2 separate regions of the Homo sapiens genome follow, and region 1 is linked to region 2. The links are contacts of gene promoters, found by promoter capture Hi-C in blood cells and fetal thymus (Javierre and others, 2016). All regions are on one chromosome and are shown on one strand. Each heading gives the region's core, a stretch centred on a gene start or on the middle of the fragment in contact. The rest is flanking DNA. Distances are from core to core; before and after follow the strand shown. Region 1 has its middle 33 kb from the start of RNU6-1. Region 2 holds the start of PIAS1 (protein inhibitor of activated STAT 1).

The links. The method cuts DNA at HindIII sites, captures the fragments that hold promoters and counts their contacts. A CHiCAGO score of 5 or more calls a contact.
Region 1: a fragment that was not itself captured here is called in contact with the fragment with the promoter of PIAS1 in region 2 in 7 of 17 cell types (M0 macrophages, M2 macrophages, M1 macrophages and 4 more); the score reaches 10.0 in M0 macrophages.

The regions. Positions count from the first base shown.
Region 1 is chr15:67,871,298-67,875,626 of GRCh38, forward strand. No RefSeq gene overlaps it. Among named protein-coding and RNA genes, the nearest start is that of RNU6-1, 33 kb to the left of the region's middle. The HindIII fragment of the contact is 2,004 bases long and covers 458-2,461 here.
Region 2 is chr15:68,051,258-68,055,564 of GRCh38, forward strand. PIAS1 (protein inhibitor of activated STAT 1) reads left to right here and starts at 3,058. Exons shown (of 14, transcript NM_016166.3): 1 at 3,058-3,093. The coding sequence starts at 3,070. RefSeq lists a silencer at 2,857-3,356. The HindIII fragment of the contact is 6,968 bases long and covers 1-4,307 here.

The DNA.
Region 1 (4,329 bases), core at 210-2,709, 180 kb before region 2:
TGATCCAGCAGTCAGAAAATCAGTAAGGACATAGTTGAACTCAACAGCACCATCAATCAACAGGATATAATTGACATCTATAGACTACTTCATCCAAAACAGCATAATACACATTCCTCACATGTACCGTTCACCAAAGTAGACCACATTCTGGGCCACAACCTGCACCCTACCTAATTTAAAGGAACAGAAATATTACAATGTATGCTCTCAGACTACAATGGGATTAAACAGAAAGATAGCTGGAAAATCCCCCAAATACTTGGAGACTAAACAACATACTTCTAAATGACATATGGCTGAAAAAGAAATCTCAAGAGAAACCAAAAACTATTTGCAACTAAATGAAAATGAAAACTCAAATTATCAAAATTTGAGGGATGCAGTAAAAGTGCTTAGAGGGATATTTATGACATTGAATGCATATATTAGAAAAAAGTTCTAAAATTATAATTCAAGCTTTCATCTTAGAAAAAGAACAACAAATTAAATGCAAGGCAAGGAAAAGGTAGCAGATCCCATAGAAGAATGGACAGTTTATCAAGAGAAAACTTATAAAAGTGGTAACCCAAACAGGCAAGTTAAGGGAATTATTAAAAATTAAAATCATTAGTAATCAAAGAAATTCAATTTTAAACAACAATGAAATATCAGCCTTACACCTAGAAGACTGGCAAAAATTGGAAAGTTGGAAAATGTCAAGTGTTAGCAGGTAAGTGGAGATATAGTTTCCTTCACATGCTGCTGGTGGGAATGCAGATTGTCAACCATTCTGGAGAGCAGTCTGATACATTAGATATACTAGATAAATTAAATATATGCACAGCCTGGGACCCAGCAGATCTACTCCTGGGTGTATATACACTCAGGATAAGTAATCATACAGGTCCATCAGGGAATACAGATTAGAACATTGGCTGCTGTGTCAGTTCTGCTAGCAGGCAATTGGAGACAAGCAGTTGTCCATCTGGAGAGGAATAAATGGGTGAAATGTGAATGATGCATGTAGTAGAGTGCTTTAGTCTGTTTTATGCTGCTGTAACAGATACCACAGATTGGATGATTTGCAATGAGCCAAGATTTATTTCTTACATTTCTGGAGATGGGAAGTTCAAGATCATGGTGCCGGCATCTGGCAAGAGCCTTCTTGCTGCTGTATCATAAGATGGCAGAAAGCATCAGATGGCAGTAGAGCAAAGAGAGGGTTAGAGAGGGCCAAATTCACTCTTTATCTTTCATTTTTATTTTTTTGAGACAAGGTTTTGTTCTGTCACCCAGGCTAGAGTGCAGTGGCATGATAATAGCTGACTGCAGTCTTGAACTCCTAGGCTCAAGGGATCCTCCCACCTCAGCCTCCCGAGTAGCTGGGACCACAGGTGTACACCACCACACCCAGCTAATTTTTTTTTTTTTTTTTTTTTTTTGTAGAGATGGGGTCTCACAATGTTCCTCAGGCTGGTTTCGAACTCTTGGGCTCAAGCAATTCTCCCACCTCAGCCTCCCAGAGTGTTGAGATTATAGGCATGAGCCACTGTGCCTAGCCCCTAAACTTGAACTCTTGGGCTCAAGCAATTCTCCTGCCACAGCCTCCCAGAGTGTTGAGACTTTGGATTGTCTGTAATGCTCATGCATTACAGGCATGAGCCACTGTGCCTAGCCCCTAAACTCACTCTTTTATAATAGCACCAATCCCACTCATGAGATGGAAGCTGTCAAGTTCTTAAAAGTCCCACCTCTTAATACTGCTACAATAGCAATTAAATTTCAAAATAAGTTTTGGAGGGGACAAACTTTCAAACCATAGCAGATGTATACATAGCAACATGAATGAATCTTAAAAACAGCCCTCAGTGACAAAGGTAGGAAGCATAATGAGATAACTTGATACCATTTATAAATTAAAGTAGATGCACATATTTTTGTAATTTATTGTATATGTTACCAATTTTAAAAATGCATACACACAAAACTTGAAATGGATCATAAGCCTAAATCTGGAAGCTGAAACTGTAAAACTTCAAGGAGAAAACATGGGAAAATCTTATGATTTGAGGTTAGGCAAAGATTTTAGGATTAAAAAAGCATGAATGAAAAAAGAAAAATGAATGAATTGGCATCATCAAAATTAAAAGCATCTGCTTTTCAAAAGGCACCATCAAGAAAATGAAAAGACAAACTGTAGCTTGAGAAAAAATATTTGCAAAACACACAAATGATAAAGGGTTTTGTGACAGTCATCAACTTATTGCTTCTTGGCTCCAAATTCACCCTTCTTTACCTGCTCTGTGATAATGGAGGTGGGTTAAATAAATATTTTTCTTTGATACATGATGTTAAGCCAGTAGTAGGCATGGGAGGAGGAAGAAATTGTCTCTTACTCTTTCCCTTTTCCTGAAAAGGGCAGCTTCTCCAGCTCCCAGTTCTGGCAGTGCATGGTAACCTTCAGTGCCCAGCTGACAGAAGCTTCCCTCAGCATCTTCTCTAAGTGGTGTGCCACTGGCAAGGCACCTGACCATGAACGGCTTCCCCCAGCACCCCATCACCTGAAGAATTTGCAGCAAGTTTCAAGGTATGGCACTTCTCTGTGGACAACACCCCCTAGTACCCTAAAGGGAAGATTCCACTATTACACTGTGAGCCACTTCAGTGTCTTCTCCACCACCCAGGATGCCATGCTGTGCTCTCCCCAGCAGGGTCTGGAGTTCTTCCTTGGACACTCTATCCTGCTGGCAGCGGCTGTTCCCTGTATTTGCCATTCTTGCATTCATCAGAGTTCTCTATAACTCTTATGAGTCGATTTCCCATTACTCAAATCTCCTGTTATTTCTTTATGTTAAACTTTACCTGTTTTCCATTTCTTGATTGGACAGTGATACCAAATTCTATCCAGAATATATACAGAAACCTCCCAACTCAATAATAAATAAAAACACTGACTTAAAATTGAACAAAAGATTTAGAGCTGTTTACCAAATAAGATATAAAACAAACACTAACTTAAAAATAAGATATAAAACAAAAGATTTAAAGCTACTTCGCCAAATAAGATATAAGCACATAAAAAGATTCTCAACATAATTAGTCAATAGAGAATTGCATATTAAAACCACAATGAGATACCATTAACATCACAAAATGCTCAAATTTTAAAATCTTGACAATACAAGCTGAGGATGTAGAGCAACTGAAGCTCTTATTTCTTTTTCTTTTTACCTTTCCTTTTTTCTTCCCTGGGATGGATCCTGAGCAACTAGAACACTTATATATTGCTGATGGAAATGCAAAATGGGACATTGGTTTGGCAATTTCCGATAAAGTTAAATATATACTGATGTATATATCTCATTGTTTTAATATGCAATTCCTTAATGACAAATAATGTTGAGCATTTTGTTGTTGTTGTTGTTGTTGCTGTTTGACAGAGTCTTGCTCTGTTGCCCAGGTTAGTGCACTGGTGCAATCACAGCTCACTGCAGCCTCGATCTCCCAGGCTCAAGTGATCCTCCTGCCTCAGCCTCTCAAGTAACTGGGACTACAAGAGTTTGCTACCACACCAGCTAATTCTTAACTTTTTTGTAGAGACGGGGACTCGCTCTGTTGCCCAGGTGGGTCTCAAACTCCTGGGCTCAAGTGATCCTCCTCGGCCTCCCAAAGTGCTGAGATTACAGACGTGAGCCAACCCCACCCAGACATTTTTAAATGCTTATTTGCCATCTGTTTATCTTATTTGTTGAGATATCTGTTCAGATGATCCATTTTAAAATTGGTTTCTTTGTTTTTGTTGAGTTTTAAGAGTTCATTGTATGTTTTGGATACAAGTACTTTATCAGATACATGTTTTATAAATAATTTCTCTGGTCTGTGACTTTTTCATTCTCTTAACAGTGTCTTGTGCAGAGCAGAAGTTATTAATTTTAATAAAGTTTGACATCAATTTTTCTTTCATGAATCATGCTTTTGGTGTTGTATCTGAAAATTCATAGCCAAATCCAAAGTCATCTAGTCTTTCTCCTTTCTTCTTCTAGAAGTTTTATAGCTCTGCATTTTATATTAAGGCCTATGACCCATTTTGAATTAATTTTTGTGAAAGGTCTAAAGTTTGTTTCTGGATCCTTTTTTTTTTTTTTTTTTTTTTTTGCATATGGTGATTCCAGAGCAATTTGTTGAAAAGATTAACCTTTTCCTATTGAATTGCCTTTGCTCCTTTGTCAAAGATTGGTTGGCTATTACTGAATGTAAATTATACCTTAATAAATTAACATAAGAAATACATATTTTCCAAAAATACAAAAACATTTACTGTAAACATAGTAAAGTGGTTGCCAAGGT
Region 2 (4,307 bases), core at 1,808-4,307:
TAAGACTCGCTACCATGATAAGACTCCTTCCCTTCTTAATTTTTTCTTGCTTATGCCCACCTCTTCCACTTGGCAGGATAATGCTGTAGTTAAAATTTCACAATTAGTAGTTTTTGTGGGTAAGTTGATAAAGGGTCAAACCCAAACATTTACAGGACCCAAGAGAGCTTTTATTCCACCTAGTGGGTAACTTTAGCAACATCCCTAATGCAACTGTTTGTTCAAATTTTACTAGTGGCCTCTTTTGTAGAGTTAGCACTCTTTGCTTTAATTTAACCCATTTCTGAGATGCTAGATGATAGAATTGCTGCGTACTAACCAAACGGGGAAATCTGTGCTGTTGCTGTCACTTCTTGTTGTACATAAATAATCTGGTATTGTAGAGACTCAGTTTCAAAAAGTTAGCAGGCTACTTGGTGAAAACAGGTAGATTTCTCATCTGGCTCATTCTTTGATCTATTTGATTTTAGTTGGTTTGGTTTATGGCAACCCTAGCTAAGAAGCATACTCCGAACTCTTGGCATTGTCCTCCTGATAGTCACAATTCTCAATTATGTTCTCTCAAAAAGTTTTACATATTTGCATACAGCCAATTGTTGAATGTCATATGGTCTCTCTTCAGCTGCAATGACAGAAATACAAAATCATGAGGACACTGTAATCTATAAATGATGTGTTGAGACTGGAAACACAGAATGATGTTAAATGAGGGTAGTGCTAATGCCCTCAGTCTTAGTCACAATTTCACCTAGGTTGTTAAATAAAAATCATGGGATGCCATTGTTTTCAACCAAATTCCTGCATCAGGCCTCCAGATCAGACTAAAAATCAAAATGGTGTCACCCATGTTCACCAAAACAAAACTGAGTTATCTGGTTTTCCAAAAAATGGTAAGAGAGATAGCCAATTTTCCAAACAGAAGTTTCAATCTTTAACAGGCATGATAATGAAATTTCCTGTTTTAATCCTTAAAATAGAATACCTGAAGTAACCCAATGTTAACCAATCAGTTTTCTTTCTACTGTTCTGTCTCCACGTCTCCACCTTAAAGAAAAGTGACTTTGATATAACCAATCTGCTTTTTGTTGTTTCTGCCTTCTTCAGTCTATTTTCTGTCTCTAAAGTTAACATCCTCTGCTTGATTCATTGCAACATTTATTCTATTTTGTGGAATGAAGTTTTGTCCAATTCTAGGAGTGCAATAATGCCAATGAGATCTTGAATCTCAATTTGTTTTACTTTTGTTTCTTGACAATGGAGAGGTTTAGGCTAGAGAGCATTTTCAAAGTCATGAGCATATAGACTTCAAGTCAACCAGTTAGATGAGATCACCTGGTGATAAAATAGAGAAGAATGCAAGGACCGAGCCCTGGAGCAGTCCAACATTTAAAGATTGAGCCAAAGAGGAGAAACCAGCATATCAAAAAGGAGGCCCAGTGAGGGAACAGGACTATCTGTGACGTGTAGGTAAGTTCAGGGGGAAAAGTGTTTCAAATCAAAGGAACCATGTCAATTATTCGCGATTCTACAGAGAGGTCAATTGAGATATGGATAGAGAATTGGCAATTGCCTTTGGAAACAAGATCATTAGTAATCTTGATAAGTGATACAGATGATGGAAGCCAAAGCTCGATCAGGGTAGACTGAGAAGTGAATGTGAAGTGAGAGGTAGGAACAAGCACTATTGGAGAGATCTTGAAAAACCTTTCTAAGAATTTATGAAGATAGCAGAAAAATAGGGCAGTTCCTAGAGGCGATTTTGGAGTCAAAGGAAGTTTATTTTAGATGGGAGAAATTTCAATATATTTATATGCTGATAGGAGCAATTCAATTGAGAGGGAAAAAACTAACGATGCTGGAGGGTAGGTAATTGTAAGAGTAAAATCCTTAGGAATGTGCGTGAAAAAAATCCGGTCACTGGTAAAGGGACTGGCCTTCCTAGGCGCAGGGACACTTCATTCATAGCAACCCAAATGTTACTATGCAGATAAGGGTGGTTTTGATGGTGAGAAGATAAGGGAGTTTATTTCTGATATCTTTCATTTTTTCCATGAGTTATGAGGCAAAGTTGATTAGTAAAAGTGGGGGTTGGGGAGGAGGTATATAGAAGGCTTTCAGTAGAGACGAAAAGGAATGAAATAATCCTTCCATCAAGTCTACTTAAATGTCAATTTAGTGGATAAAACCCTCCCAGAATTAAGTACATCTCCCAAACCCTTTCTCTCTCTCAATGACCTTTTGCTCCTTTCTGGTACTCACTAACATTTGCAATTGTATCTTTGTTCGTTCACTTCTCTGATTCCCCATTAGAGAACTACAGAAGGGCACGGACTTTGATTTCAAAATGTATATTTAGCCGTTAGCACAAGGCAAGCAGATGGTCACTAAATAAATACTTTTTTAAACAAAAATGTTAATGAACACCTTCAAAATTTTGTCTTACGCCACCTCGTTAAAATACTTGTTTGTGCAAGTCACTTTTCCTCTCTGAGCTTTCATTTCTGAATCTATACCATGGGAATTATCTCTTCCTTGCCTACCTCCCCTCGTTATCAAGAGGATCTGAGCCAATAATGATAGAAATGCTTCATTAAGGGCCCCTTAAATGTAATGGATTTCTATTTTTAGCCCACTGGTAGCCTCGCAGGTAGCAGGTGCTGAAAAAGCCTTGCTTATTGGGGGTTGGGGGACAGCATTGTTTCTGTGACCGTAGGCGTCGAAGCTATGCAGAAGCGTTCCGCGGACCGCAGAGAGATGGGGCTCAGGCCAGCATCCCTCTCGCTCCGGCCCTTCCCGGGAGGAGCTGGCCGAGCTAGGATGGGGGGCAGGGAGACCGAGGGGGCAGTAACTGTCAAACCTCGCCGCTTGGCGCCATTATTTAAATGGAACGTGCCTGTCTCGCAGCTGTACGTGCCCGGGGCGGGGCTTCGAGCGCCCTGAGCGGGGCGGAGGCTAGAGGCGGGCTGGGAAGGTGGAGGGGCGGGCCGGGGCGGGGCCAGGCCGGCTAGAGGGGCGGGTCTAGCGGCGGCCCCCGGCGAAGTTCACTGCGCTTGCGCTGACAGACGCAAGATGGCGGACAGTGCGGAACTAAAGGTAAAGCGCAGCTCGAATTCACTTCTAATATTCGGCCGCGGAGACGGCGCCGCTGCTGCCAGGGGGGATGGGTCCGACCCTGGGGGGCCTCTCGGGCCTGACTCCACCCGGGCCTGGAGTTGTAGGGAGAGAGGCGCGCCCGGTCTCAGCAGAGGGGGCCCGCCTGCGGCGGGCCGCGGGCCCCGGGTGCCTCGGGGGCGCTGACGGGTCGTCCCCGGCGTGTTATTGTTGTGGGCGCCTCTGGCGGGGGTGGCGGGGGAAGAGATAGGGAGTCCGGAGGTAGGGGCTGCAGCTGTCTCATGGGCTCGGCTTTTTCACCTTCCAGTTAGCCTCCCTGCCCCCCATGGGGAGCTGGGGCTGGGGGCAGGGTGCTCTCGTAGGGGGGATTGGGAAAGCTCCCCGTGGCCGCTTCCTCTTCCTCCTTTGCAGTCCCGGGCTCCTGTCAGGCGCTCTTCTCAGACCCCCGGGAACTTGGCTTCGGCCGCCCCGCCCCTCCGTGGATCCCAGTAGCCCCCGCCCCGGACTCGGCTTTCCCCGGCTGCTCGCTTGTCAGGAAGCGCCTGGGGTGCCCCGCTTGTGGGAAGCGCGATCCCGGGGCGATAGGGTGGGGATCTGGGGGAGAAGCTCTGGTAAAGTTTAGCGAGCCCCGGGCCGGCGTTGGGGTTCGGCTGAGAGGTAGTGAGCGGGACGTTACTCTTTCTCTCTGATTCCGGGCAGCCGAGGGGAGAAACCCCCTCGAAGAGTGTGTCTTTGGAAGCAGTGTTGGGAGGGGGGGATGCAGCTACCTCTCTCCCTTCTTTTGCCTTAGCTGGTGTGGAGGGTGAGAGGAGCCTTTGGGGGTCTCTGCACACACCATGATGGCGATGCTGTAGCTGATGGAGGTGAATGGTTCGTGTTTATATCCCCCCATTGCCTTTTGTTTGTAGGGACATCTTGCTGGCCATGTTGATTTGAACGAAATTCTCCCCTCATGCTACTCCAACCCCCGATAAATAGAACGTTCCTCTTAACAGTACCAATTACTCACGCCTCACGAAATTAGATGAAAGGGTGCCCCCTTTTCCCCGCTTTTCTCCCACCCCAATCTTTACCTGATGATGGCTTCTTTACCGTAGCAGATATACCACTACACAAGCAGTTGGGGGAGGGGGTGGTGGAACCCTTATGACTGGATTGTGACAAATGGGGCTCCGCTTGAATAATTTTGGTTTAGT